Linked DNA regions of Homo sapiens: all the other regions are linked to region 1. The links are contacts of gene promoters, found by promoter capture Hi-C in blood cells and fetal thymus (Javierre and others, 2016). All regions are on one chromosome and are shown on one strand. The core of a region is centred on a gene start or on the middle of the fragment in contact, and the rest is flanking DNA. Distances in the headings are between cores, read along the strand shown.

Region 1 (3,276 bases), core at 307-2,806:
TCCACATTTTAAACCACCAGATTTTATTAGAAGGGAGTATTCCACTGCCAATAAAACAGGTGGAAACCACTACAAGTTTTATGTAGCCACATTCCCTGGAATTATCTTTTCTTGGCTCCTCTTTTCTTTCTTGTCCTGGACATGGAACTAAAGGGAACATGTTTTTAAAATTCTGGCTGAAATGAACATATTTCTTTGTCCTTCTTTCTTCTCTCCTACCGAGGAGTGAAATTAAAGACAGTGCTAAAGGCATAAGCAAGGCCAGTATGGAAACTTCCAGCAATTTCACCAAAAGTTTTCAGCAAAATATTACAGATTAGAAAACATCTGTTTCAGAATAGCTACCAAGTGCTAAATAAAACAGAAAACAGAAGTTACATCTCATTATCCTGTGACTTCAGGAGTTATCATTCCCACTTGAATATGTCTTGTCATGGGAAATGACCTTCAGGAGGCATCTTCTTTGTATTTCTTACTATATGTCTCCCCACTGTCCCTGAACTATCATTATAAACTTAATTTTTTCTGCACCCAAAGCTTGTGGGAACTAGAATGAACAGAAGAGGAATGAATGAAGCCCTCATTCTTTTCAGCGATTTTCAGCTTAGGACCCAGTTTTGGAACAAGATAGACCCAAATCTACTTCCTGGTTTCCTGCTTAGAAATAAGATGCTTATCCTTTAAGGCAGATTGTCAAGCTCCTTCAATAGAGGTGAATGAGGACACCCATCATCTGCAAATCATTACATCTTCACAAGAGAATTATGATATTCTCCAAATACCATGAAACTTCAATTTTTAATCTTCTAGGGATATCAAATTAAACCAAATTTATCTCTCGCCTGAAGACAGCCTGGAGGACTGAGACTGTAATCTTGATTCCAACTCCACACCAGCCATTAGTTACATTGGGACAAATTCCTTCCCATGATCAGGCTGCAATTTTATCATTGGGAGCACTGGAGTAAATGGTTCCCTAAGATCCTTCTCCATTTTGATGTTCTAAGGATAAATTACTATTGAAGAAATTATTTCCAGTTGTTGGTTCAATCTTCAAAATCACCAAAAGCTTTGATTTTAAGGTGAGGTTATAGGAGTTGGCTCTTGATATTCTATGCCTTGTGCTTCAGAACAGGCAGTCGAAAGGGAGGAAAGTTGGTTTTCCTTGAGATGACTGTCTTGTTCCCTCATTGGTTTGGGATTCTTCATGTTCAGAGGTCCACTGAGAACTTCAGCTTACCATGACTTTCCCTCTTCAATGGTACCACTGTAGTCAGGTGTAAGATGGTGATGTGGAACCCTTCACTGACATTGCACCCAATTCTCCAGATTGTCTTTCCAGTAATTTCTTTCATTTCTCCTTCATCCCTGCGTCATGGTCCCTTTAAGGGAGCGGCCATAGTTGAGTGGTGGGAGCAGCTGCTGGCAGCAAAGAGACTTGCAGGATTTGGCCTACCCATGGCCACTTACCGCGCACGCTCAGGACCGGGGGCTTGGTGGGAAAGGAAGGAGGGACTTAGGGTGCGCCTGCGCATCAGGGGCGCGCGCAAGGGGCTGATTTGGTGATCCCTTTAAGAAACCGCAGGCGGAGGAATTTCTCTGAGAGAAAATAATCCTACTCACGGGGCCCCTTGGAGGCCATTAACCCCCCGAGTCCCGGCCCCCACCCCGTCCCCGGGCAGGCCCTCCCGCCCACGCGCGGACCCGTGGGATCTCAGAAGCTGCGGCCCGGCGCGCGGCATCCGCCCCCTCCCCACTCTCGGCGCAAGGCCCGGCCGGGTCCGGGGAAGCTGCCGCGAGGCGGCCGTGCCTGCAGTGTGGGCGGGGGCCGGGGGGCCGAGAGGTACCGCCGCCACCGCGCGGGGAGCCGCAGCGGTTCCGAGCGGGGCCCAACATGGCGGAGAGAGAGGTGGAGTCCGGCCCCCGAAAGAGGGTAGGTGAGGTGAGGCAGAACTCGGGCGGCGGGGGGCGGGGCGCGGCCCGGGGCCGGGAATGGGCCATACTCAGGTTCGTGGAGGGGTCGCCGAGGCCCAGTTAGGACAAGGTTGCGGGCAGGTCTGAGGCAGCCTTGGGTCCGGAGCGCGCTGGCGAGCGGTCCCTCGGCAGGTGGGACAAAGATTTGGTGCTGGGTGGGGGGGAGGGGAGGGGGCCGTTGTTTGCCTTCCTCCCCCCGACGTTCCCCAGCACTGGGGTGGGATATCTAGGCCCAGGGAGGGGAGGTGTCAGATTCTTAAGTGCATCTTTAGTGCATCTTTAGTACATCAGAGTCTGGAAGTTAACTGGGGAGAGGTCAGGTGGGGGTGGTGGTGGCGGGAATAAGTCGTGGAGGGGTCTCAGGAGAAATAACCGGAGGGTTCTTCAGTAACACCATCGCGAATTCATTTTCCTGCCTCCTTTCCCCTCCCCCCATAGCCGTTATCTAGACCAAAGTCGGGGTGGTGGTCTTACCTGTGAAGAAGTGGGATCGTTGGCATGTCCTGATTTAGGAGAAAGATTTTGGCTACTATGAATGTCATGTTCTAGCCTAGCCTCTTACTCGCAATTAGGGACTTGGAAGAATACGACAAGTTTTCTCATAACAGGGATGTACCCAATCAACCTGCAGAGGTGAAGCCAATTCTACATAGGAGTTGTTTGAATACCTTTTAAAGTTTGTCTGGAAACTTTCCTTATTTAATTCTGAGTGGTTTTTTTCAGATGGCGAACAATACTGTACTATCGATTGAGCAATATCCCTCACTTTTCTTTTACTTCCTCCCCGCTTAGCATGATAAGAAGTAAGTTTCCTTTTAGGAGTCTTCCTTTTGGGAATGGTTTCAGAAACGATCAATTAGCAAAAGGGCAAAAAATTACTACTTTATGAAGAATGCCCTTTCAGCTTAGCGTAAAATTAGTAATCTCGTAATGATGCTACAGCTGATGTTTTGAGTGCTTACTGTGTGCCTGGCACTGAGCTAAGACCTTTATGTGAAGAATTTAACTTCATAGTAACTCCTCCTAGAACCTATTTGCAGATGAGGAAATTTAGGTGTTGAGGGCTTAAGTAATTTACTTAGATCACACAGCTAGTTGCAAGGTTGAGGTAGGATTTGAATCCAGGTTTGTCCCAACTATAGTGCCTGTGTGGGATGCCACAGAGGAGTTTCTTTAATCTGTGTTTCTCTCCTTAAAAGCTTAAATTGTAAATGACCAAAGAAGTGTCAAGTATTATTTTTTCCAACAATTTATTAGGAAAATATTTTGAACTATCCGTCAATATTATAAAACTTACGGGGA
Region 2 (3,276 bases), core at 380-2,879, 390 kb before region 1:
CCAATCTCCCTACCAACTAAATGTAGCCATGTGCCTAAGTTCTAGCCCATGAGATAAAAGTAGAAGTGGCATGTGCAACTTCCAGAAAGTGTCCTTAAAAGGAGGGGGTATGCCCTTCCTTGTCTCTTCCTCCTTCCCGATCACCAGAATGCAGACATGATGGCTGGACCTCAAGCAGCCATTCTGGAACATGAGACCAAAGGGAAGTGCTAAGTGGGGTGGGGGATGAGGAAAAGATAGAAGGCTCCAGGTCCTGACACTGTGGGGCATCTACCAGACCTCAACTAACTCTCCCTGGATTTCCTCTAAGTAAGAGAGAAATAAACTTCTATCATATTTAAATCACTGTTGTTTGGGGGGTTTTCTATAACTCACAGTCAAACCCACTCCTAACTATAACAGATGAATTTTTAGAATAGTGAAGTTAAGGGCTTATGTCGCTATTTAGTTTTGGATTTGGCAGTATTTGCTGTGGTCTCCACCAACAGCTGTCAGCACAGGATAAAAACTGGCTTCAGCTGTGAATTGTCATTAATGCGTAACAATGCATTCACAATATTTTCTCCCAAGCCTTTAAATGTGGCTGCAGAAGCCTCCTCCCTTTGAGTGCTCCAAGGTGACAATGATTACATTCCTGATGATAATGCAAGTTGTTATCATGGTTACTTCAGGGAGAGTTTCCACTGCGATTCTACTTCAGGGAGAGTTTCTACTGTGATTCTCTGGGGGATAACATAAAAGCCTCTGGGTAGAAGCTGGATTATCCCAAGAGACACAGTATCCAAGGAAAGCTCTATATCCAGAAGTTGTCAAGAGGTTTTGCCAGGAGTATTTGGCAGCAGGCAGGAAGGGTGGGAGGGGGAGTGGGCAGGGAGGGGGAAGGACGGTGTCATTTCAACTAGGCATAGCCTTCAAACTAGCTTCTATAGAAGCTCCTGTGTGAAGGCATCTAAGAGCCTAAACATATAATCAAGCAGGGGTCACTGAACCCACCACTCCAGCCTGGGGGCTGTGACAGGGATGCCAAGGTGGGGCTAGGGTGGGAGATTCAGGAGGAGTCATGAGGGTCAGTCAGAAACCGTCCTAAATTTGCAGGCTCAGGAATGGAGGTAGCATCTGTGCCCAGGGCTTTGGGCAGTCAGCTTCTTATTGCTTTTGCAGGACTGTTCTTGGAATATAACTTAATGGGTATGGAAGCTTCTTTCCCAGGCCTCAAGGGGCCATTCTTTCAGCACATACCCTTCCCAAACTCCCAAAGCTAGAAATGACCATAATGTTAAGGAAAGGGTAGGCAGGTCTTCCTCCACAGAGTTCTCCAGGTGGCCCTTCGTGGGCACAAGCAGGTATGAGTAGGGTTGTCAGATAAAATATAGGACTCCCAGTTGAATTTGAATTTCAGATAAATAACAGATGTTTTTACTATGAGTATGTCCCAAATATTGCATGTGACATACTAAAATGCATTCATTATTTATCTGATCATCAAATTTAACTGGGCATCCTGGTGGTTTTTGTTTCTTTATTTTGGTGGGTTTTGCTGTTGATGTTGTTGGTTTTGTTTTTGCTAAATTTACAATTTAAGATAAGGTCTGTCTGGGAGGAATTAGAGGTGGAAGATACAGGCAGATCCCTATGGTTAGAAAGAGTTGGAGGCAAAAATCCCATTTTCTATGACTTCAGAGGGCCCCTTGCTAATATTCAGCAAGACATCTGATGCATCCTTTTATCATGGCCCAGAGTGTGCTGGGTCTAGGGAAACAGGTGCCATAAGGACATGTTGAGACACGGCTGGTAACTGATTAAGTATGTTCTCTCTCACCACAAGGCCTTAGCATATGCTATTCCTTCTGCCTGGAACCTTATCTCCCATTTTTCACTCAGTTAATTTTTGTTCATCCTTCGGATCTCCACCCAAATGTCACTTCCCAGGGAAGCCATGCCTGACCCCTCTGGCAGACTCAAAGCCCCATAGTCTACACTGTCATGGCTCACATGCCGCTCCTTTGTGGCAGCCGGCACAGCGGCTACATCATTAATGAGATTCTTAGATTAACTTCGTGGTAAGCTTTGCATGGGCAGGAGCTGTCTCTGGTTCTGCTCACCTTTGCATCCTCAGTGCCCAGCACAGTGTTTGGCAAATAATACAGATCCAATAAATATCTGTGGACAGATGAATCTTGGCGGGGGGGTGGGGGTGTGCAGTGGAGATAGAACTGAAGGGGTGCCAGCCCCCTCCCCTTATATTCTAAGCCAAGTCATCACTGACACTGGGCAACTGGAAGGACTCACAGACAATTCCCAGACAGAAGGGACAATAAGTCCAAAATCCTCACCCAAGAGGTGAGCAGGGAACACCCTGAAAGGCAGAAGAGAAGAGACCTTTCCTGCTCAGCAATTTTTAAAACCAAATTACAGAGAGAGAAACAGATACTGGGATGAGCGAGACAGCAGTAAGGACAAGAGAGTCAAAGAAAATGGGGCTGGGCTGTGTGTGGCGGGCCAGGCCTGAATGCTGGCCAGGCGAGGCTGCTGGAATTCATGGCTCGCTTTTATGCACCAGTTGGGGCATGGTGTGTGAGGAGTCAGACTTAAAGTGCCAGGGACATAAGGGACAGAAAGGACTGTGCAGGTGTATGACTAAGGACGCCTGCAGCAGACAGGCCAGGGAGCCTGGCCAAAGAGATGGGCCAGATTTCCCCTCTCCCCACCTGTCACTCCCTCTGAATTCCCAGTGTGATCACCTGTCCCAGGCAGTTTGGTTCTTTCGATGCTTATTCAACACCATGTCCTCTCCTCAGCCCGCCACATCAAGACCTCACCAAGCACTTACACAAGAGCAAGGAAGGCCACGTTCTCTGCCTGTCCCTGCCCTTCCCTGACTTTCACTCCAAAATGCTGCTCAAATTGGCCCACTTCTCTCTGTATCCACTGCTATCAGCCTTACCCAGACCACTGATCAATAGAGTAGACTGAATTAACTTAGGAAGCTCCCACTCACACCCTAAACGCATAGAAATGCTGGGTTTTTAAAAATCAAAAAGGTGTTTTTGCTACAATGCTGGGTTTGAAAATAGGAATGAGAAATGTCCAGGTATCAGAAACAGGAAGGAAATTCAAAGAACATATAGTGAGAGGGGGTCTAAGCCAAGTGAACCACAGGGAGATCAGACCAGACATATGCTAGAGGCTGGATGAAAACGCTGAGGGAGGATGAGAGGAGAGACCCCAAACCTGCGCAGCAAGGGGAGCTGGAAAGAGACCCTGTGCGCAAAGTCG
Region 3 (3,276 bases), core at 278-2,777, 290 kb before region 1:
TCCTTACTATAGGCAGACTACACCACTATGCTTTCAGACTCAGAAGAAAAAAATCCAACTGAGAGTGTCACCTTGCCTGAGGTTCACACTAGTCAGAATGGGAATTAGCATTTTGTAGTGAACATGAAATGGAGTAATAGAGACTTCTTTTCCACCCTCAAAGCAATCTGTAGGCTGATAGCTAGAATATTTGCATAAATAAGTGAACTGTTTCTCACTATAGTCCCTCATGGGAGGTACATCACTTCCCAAAAGCCCACAGCCCTGCCAACCTAAGATAAAGATGGTGGTGACATAATAGCAGGTGCCCTAACGTGTTGTCCACTTTTCCCCTGAGAACTGTCACACATATGCACCCTTCCTACCCCCAAGGACCTCTGGGATTCCTCCCAGGCTTTGGGCCCTGCTGTACCATTCAGCATTTCATGGAGTTGGCTGTCCCTCATCTCCACGTAGGTGTCAAGGAGCACTGGACTGGGTGCCACAGATCACCACCAGAGCTTGATTTCAGGTCCTGTCAAATGACTCAATGCCTACCTGTTAGCTCTGCACATCTAATATGTCAGAGAAAAAAAGGAGTGGGAGGGAATCTCTAATATGTCTCAAAGGGCATAGGCAGAAGCAAGTACTTAAGCTCTGCATACAGAACCTGTACGTTTTAAATATGTATTAAAAACCTTAAAAACATGCATGTGTTTTGAACCAGCACCCTCACTTCTAGGGGAAGAAAATAAGTATGCAAAAGTGATTTACTGTGAGGCTTACGAGAGCAAAAAATTGAGAATAACCCAAATGTTCCTCATGGGGGATTAAATACATTATAGTACATCCTTGCAATGGAATACTATGCAGCCATTAACAGCAATGAGGCAAAAGAGACATGAAACAGTGTTATAGTTTATAAGGTTTTAAAAGGAGGAAATAAAATAGGATATATGGTTTTATTTTCATTTAAAAAAAATATATATCTGTTTAAAGGCACAGAAAAAAGTTCAGAGGTATACTTACACCAAGGCATTAAAAGTGGTTATTTGGGGCATCAGAATTTTGGTTGATTTAAATTTCTTTTCTGCTTATTTTGTATTTTCATATGACATGAGGAATGTTAATATGCATAACATGTACTCCTCACAAAAGAGTAGTAAAGCTAAAAAGAGAAAGCAGTGCCAGGTAGACAAAATGTCTCTTTCAACACTGGCTGACCCTGGATATTATACTGGTAACAAGATGATAGACTCTGTGTTCTACCATGTTCCTGCTGTGACAGCTGCATGGCATAAAGAGACAGAGATGCTCTACTTCCAGGATTCCTTGAATGTACTTAGAGTCTTCTTCCTAGTGGGTCTGACCACCTTCTTAGTCTGGGCTAAGAGCTGGCCGACATTCAGCAGCAGCAGGAACCCCAGGCAGACAATGGCTGGGATACAGGTGCTTAGTGACTCTTTCAGAGCTGCCAAGGTGAAGATAGCCCCTGGAATGGAAAGTGAGGTCCCTGAGGCTCCTTGGAAGAACCCAGGAGATCCAGGAGCTCAGGGCTCTCTAGTTTAGGCTGACCCACTCCAGCCCAAGCCCTCCCATTAAACACCCCCACCACTCCTAACGCACATTCCCAAAACTAGCGGCATTCATCTCTAGCCTCCTGGAGAAAGCAGGACCAGGAAATTAGAAGCCTCTTGAACAACAGCAGCAGTGGCAACAGTTGCCCCTCTCAGAGGACAAGAAAGAAACGGGAATGACCCAGCCAAATAGGGCAGTGGCTAGAGTGGATAGATTTTAGAAAAAAAAATCTCCCTGATCCTTCTCCTTTCCTTTTTTTTTTTTTTTTTTGAGGCAGAGGCTTGCTCTGTCACCCAGGCTGGAGTGCAATGGCGTGATCTCCTGCCAGCCTTCTGAGTAGCTGGGCTACTGGGTTCTGGGTACTGGCTTCAAGCGATTCTCCTGCCTCAGCCTCCTGAGTAGCTGGGATTACAGGCGCGCACCACCACGCCCGGCTAATGTTTGTATTTTTAGTAGAGACGGGGTTTCATCATGTTGGTCAGGCTGGTCTTGAACTCCTGACCTTGTGATCCGCCCGCCTCGGCCTCCCAAAGTGCTGGGATTACAGGCATGAGCCACCGTGTCTGGCCCCTTCTCCTTTCTTAATCCTACATCTACTAAGATTAAGATGGAGGGAAGGACTAGCCCAGGGGCTGTTGGTTGGAGGTATGGGAAAGATCTGAAAATGGGAGAAGCTCCAGAGATGGAAGCAAGCCTGGTAGCAGTGGCAGCAATGGTAACAGATGCCAGGGCATATAGAAGAGCCTGAAGATATCTGGCCTTTGAAGCAACAGCTGTCTTTGTACATCAGCAGTTCCTGTGGGCAGAGCTACTTGAGGGGGACTCCCTAGGGAAATTCTCTGCCTTCCTGTTCAAGGTTCTCCAGCTTCCCTGCTCTCTACACCAATCTGCCAGACACATGCATCAAATGGCAGCTGCTCCTCCATCCCCTCATCCTAGGAGTGGATGTGTGGAGGAAGGAGCAGAGGCGCTGAGCTTGCAATATATCTTCACAAGGCAATACTATGCAGCCATTAGAATTGAGGAGGTAGAAGGTACACTTAACATGTGATAATGTTCTAGCACATTAAGTTTAAAAAGTACCTGTGCTAGGCCGGGCATAGTGGCTCAAGCCTGTAATCCTAGCACTTTGGGAGGCCAAGGCGGGCAGATCACGAGTTCAGGAGATCGAGACCATCCTGGCTAACATGGTGAAACCCTGTCTCTACTAAAAATACAAAAAAATCAGTCGGGCGCTGTGGCAGGCGCCTGTAGTCCCAGCTACTCGGGAGGCTGAGGCAGGAGAATGGTGTGAACCCAGGAGGCGGAGGTTGCAGTGAGCAGAGATAGTGCCACTGCAGTCCAGCCTGGGCGAAAGAGCGAGACTCCATCTCAAAAAAAAAAAAAAAAAAAAAAAAAAATACCTGTGCTAGTTTGAAGACCATGGAAACTGTGGTAGAGCAGAAAGTGCTCTTGATCCCAGAGAAAAAAGAAGGGTGGCAACAGTAAGGGGGAACAGCCAGGTCTTTCCATAATCCTCCCCCAGAAGACCCCATTTTCTCAGGCCAGTTGGCCCCCTTACCCATCATGAGCAGAATCAAGAACAAGTTACTGATCTCTTGCAGCATCGGTGGGCCCATGACCAGCAGCAACCCAGCCAGCAGTTCCAGAAAGCCCACAGCTATTTGGTAGTTCAGGGGATCTGGCTGGTAGCCAAATACCTTCAGCGGGAACACCTCA
Region 4 (3,276 bases), core at 452-2,951, 280 kb after region 1:
ATAAAAAGAAATGAAGTACTGATACCTGCTAGGATATGGATGAACCTTGGAAATATTATGCTAAATGAAATAAGCCAGACACAAAAGGCCACGTATTGTACGATTCCATTTATGAAATGTCCAGAATAGGCAAATCCATAGAGTCAGAAAGCAGATTTGTGGTTTCTAGTAGCTGGGGGAGGAGAGGATAGGGAGTGACTGCTAATGGGTACAGGGCTTCTTCTAGGGGTGAGAAAAAAGTTCTGGAATTAGATAGTGGTATATCTCAATTTTAAAAAACTTCTTGGCCAGGTGCAGTGGCTCACGCCTGTAATCCCAGCACTCTGGGAGGCCAAGGTGGGTAGAATGCTCAAGGCCAGGAGTTTGACACCAGACTGGCAACATGGCAAAACCCCATCTCTACTAAAAATACAAAAATTAGCCAGGTGTGGTGGTGCACCCCTGTAGTCCCAGCTACTCGGGAGGCTGGGGTAGGAGAATTGCTTGAACCCTGGAGGCTGAGGTTGCAGTGAGCTGAGATCGTACCACTGCAGTCCAGCCTGGGCAACAGAGTGTGACTCTGTCTCGAAAAAAAAAAAAAACTTCCTCTAATCTCTCTACTACAGAACATCTAAATTCTACCCATCTCTTTAGGACTACCTCTACTTGTTTGTATTGAATGAAATTACTGAGAGGTTCCTTGAAGACAGAGTCTCATCAACTTTCTCCTGGACTATTTCATTAACATGCTAATGGATACCCTAACCTCTAACCCTGACCTCCCTCCCTTTTCCATCCATCTCCATCTCCACAATTACCACTTTTCTATACTCCTGCAAAAATTATTCAGAAATTTACCAGTATTATAGTATATTTAATACAGTATTAATAGTTTTATATTTAATACTAGCATTAAAGTATTATAGTGTTTGCCTTAAGAGGTGCACAAGACAAATCCCTCGGGCATGAAAAGAAAATATTAGAACTCTTCATATTTGCTTCTGTCAATCCCTTTAACATTTTGTTTTTGGCATCTCTTACACATATATAAGACATTAGTATAAAATTACGTGTTATAATGTATAAATTTATATACAGGGGTACATTCTCAATTTTTCAATGGATTAAAGTGCATCATGAAAAAAATTTATAGACCATCTACCTAAAAAGTTTAAAATTGAAGCTTCTTAGCATAGCATACAAGATCCTTTGTGACCTAGCCACCACCTACCTCTTCTGGAGCTGCCATACCAGCTTTGCTCTTTATATTCCAGTAGTGCTAAACTGCTTGTGGAGTTTCTTCTATATACCAGGCTGTTTCACTTTTGTGCCTTTGCTCTTGCATTCCCATTGCATGGGAATACCCTTTGAATCCTTCAAATTCAACCTTCACAACTCTGTTCAGGCATCAGCTTCTCTAGAAGATGCTTCTCTAGAAAGAACTCCTTAGAGCACCCTCTTTGCCTCCAAGCTAAATGCTTCTCCTACGGTTCCAGTAGCACTCTGTGCGTTGCATCTTTTTTTTTTTTTTTTAAGAGACAGGGTCTCCCTCTGTCACCCACACTGGAGTACAGCGACATGATCACAGTTCACTGCAGTCTTGAACTCCCGGGCTCAGGTGATCCTCTCATCTCAGCCTTTCGAGTAGCTAGGACTACAGGTGCCCACCACCACCAGCTAATTTTTTTTATTTTTGTAGAGATGAGGTTTCACTATGTTGTCCAGGCTGGTCTTGAACTCCTGGCCTCGGGTGATCCTCCTGCCTCAGCCTCTCAAAGTGCTAGGATAAGCCAATGCACCTGGCCTCTACCTTTTCACTTGCTACTGGTAGTTATTCCAGAGAAAGGATTGTATTGTACTAATCTTTATTATCCTGGTGCCTAGTCTAGAAGCAGACTCCTAGTAAGTTCTCAAAAAATGGTTCTGAATTGAATAATTTATCTCTGTACTCAAAATACGTATTAACTAACTGTATAATCTCCTTCCCAGAGGTAGGGAAATGTCAGTACAAGTTTTCATAGCCAACTGTTAGCTCTGGGCCTAAGGACATTGGCTTCAGTGATTCTCCCTGTTTCAGATTTCTAGGGCCAATTAGGTCCTTGCATCCCCCACAAACATGCACACATAACTCTTCAGATGTATACATTCTTTCTTTGTATGTGTTAATATATTTGTTAAGATTTTAGTCAATCTTGTTGGTCTCAAAAGCATTGGTCTCCTTAAAGTGCCTTTCCATATCTCTGCTCTGATTTTGTTGTTTTTAAAGCTTAATTCTCAAAGAACAATTCCCTTATTGGTAATTTATTAATTTATTCAGTCAACAAATATTTTATGCATCTACTATGTGCCTTGGTACCCGCTAAGAATATCTAGCATAACTAAAAGAGGCAACATGTCTGCTCTCAAGAAGCTGACAATCTATTGTAGGAATTTCCAAAACTCCTGGGATCACTTCCTATTTGTCTCCAGATGAGAATCCCCAGGTCCAAAACACTATTTTTCAAGCCACTTAACAATAAAATTAAACAGAAAAATAGCCATTCCATGGCACACAAGGAAAACACAGACAGACCATCTTTTATCAAATTGTAATCAATGCTTTCTAACAGTAGGGCTTCAGTACTGAACCCAAAAGTGGAAATAAAAAAGCTCACCATGTCTAAGTCAACAGCTGCCTGGGGCTCTACCAAAGATGGAGCAAACTCCTAAGTGGTAAGCGGGAGTGGAGGATAACTGCAGAGCTGCCTTAATTTGGTTAGTTTTTCAGAAATAATCCATGAGCTAAATAACAGCAGGAATCAAGAATGTATTTTATCGGAAAAAAATGTAAACACTCAGGTAAACACTGAGTAAACTCATGAGTAGAGAAATACTGACTCAGGCTCCCACCAATAGGTTTTTGCTGTTATTATTTTGTTGTTGCTTTTTCAAGTAGGTTGTTTTCCCCCTTATATAAAAAGGAATACAAGTATACCAAAGAAAGGCCTGGAAAACACAGAAAAATATGAAGAGATAATAATTCCTCTAGTCAAAAAAATACATAAATATTTAGTTGTACATCTTGTTTCAGACTGTTTTCTATTACATAATTTTTTCTTCTTTTCACAAAATTGACAGCATATTGAATATGTAGTTGCATAACTTGATTTTATCATTTAATATTAGGAGCATTTTCCCGTGTACTTTTTTTTTAAATTATTAAACATTTTTTAATTCTAAAGAGACAGGGCCTCACTATGTTGCCGGCTGGTCTCAAACCCCTAGGCTCAAGCAATCCTCCCATCTTAGCCCCCGAGT

Evidence for each region. Contacts are between HindIII fragments. The CHiCAGO score rates a contact against its expected background, and 5 or more counts as called.
Region 2: a fragment that was not itself captured here is called in contact with the fragment with the promoter of ZMYM4 in region 1 in 3 of 17 cell types (fetal thymus, naive CD8 T cells and naive B cells); the score reaches 7.9 in fetal thymus.
Region 3: a contact is called between a fragment that was not itself captured here and the fragment with the promoter of ZMYM4 in region 1, in 8 of 17 cell types (fetal thymus, non-activated CD4 T cells, naive B cells and 5 more). The highest score is 8.4, in fetal thymus.
Region 4: a fragment that was not itself captured here is called in contact with the fragment with the promoter of ZMYM4 in region 1 in 1 of 17 cell types (monocytes); the score reaches 5.1 in monocytes.

Annotation. Positions count from the first base shown.
Region 1 is chr1:35,267,153-35,270,428 of GRCh38, forward strand. ZMYM4 (zinc finger MYM-type containing 4) reads left to right here and starts at 1,557. Exons shown (of 30, transcript NM_005095.3): 1 at 1,557-1,933. The coding sequence starts at 1,895. RefSeq lists enhancers at 1,247-1,306, 1,327-1,386 and silencers at 1,517-1,876, 1,947-2,076. The HindIII fragment of the contact is 2,104 bases long and covers 1,068-3,171 here.
Region 2 is chr1:34,873,972-34,877,247 of GRCh38, forward strand. The region is part of intron 8 of DLGAP3 (DLG associated protein 3); the gene reads right to left. Among named protein-coding and RNA genes, the nearest start is that of SMIM12, 16 kb to the left of the region's middle. The HindIII fragment of the contact is 868 bases long and covers 1,196-2,063 here.
Region 3 is chr1:34,980,649-34,983,924 of GRCh38, forward strand. TMEM35B (transmembrane protein 35B) reads right to left here. Exons shown (of 3, transcript NM_001195156.2): 2 at 3,119-3,276; 3 at 732-1,471. The coding sequence ends at 1,296. Among named protein-coding and RNA genes, the nearest start is that of TMEM35B, 3.1 kb to the right of the region's middle. The HindIII fragment of the contact is 4,855 bases long and covers 1-3,276 here.
Region 4 is chr1:35,547,555-35,550,830 of GRCh38, forward strand. All of the region lies in intron 2 of KIAA0319L (KIAA0319 like), which reads right to left. Among named protein-coding and RNA genes, the nearest start is that of KIAA0319L, 8.2 kb to the right of the region's middle. The HindIII fragment of the contact is 1,083 bases long and covers 1,161-2,243 here.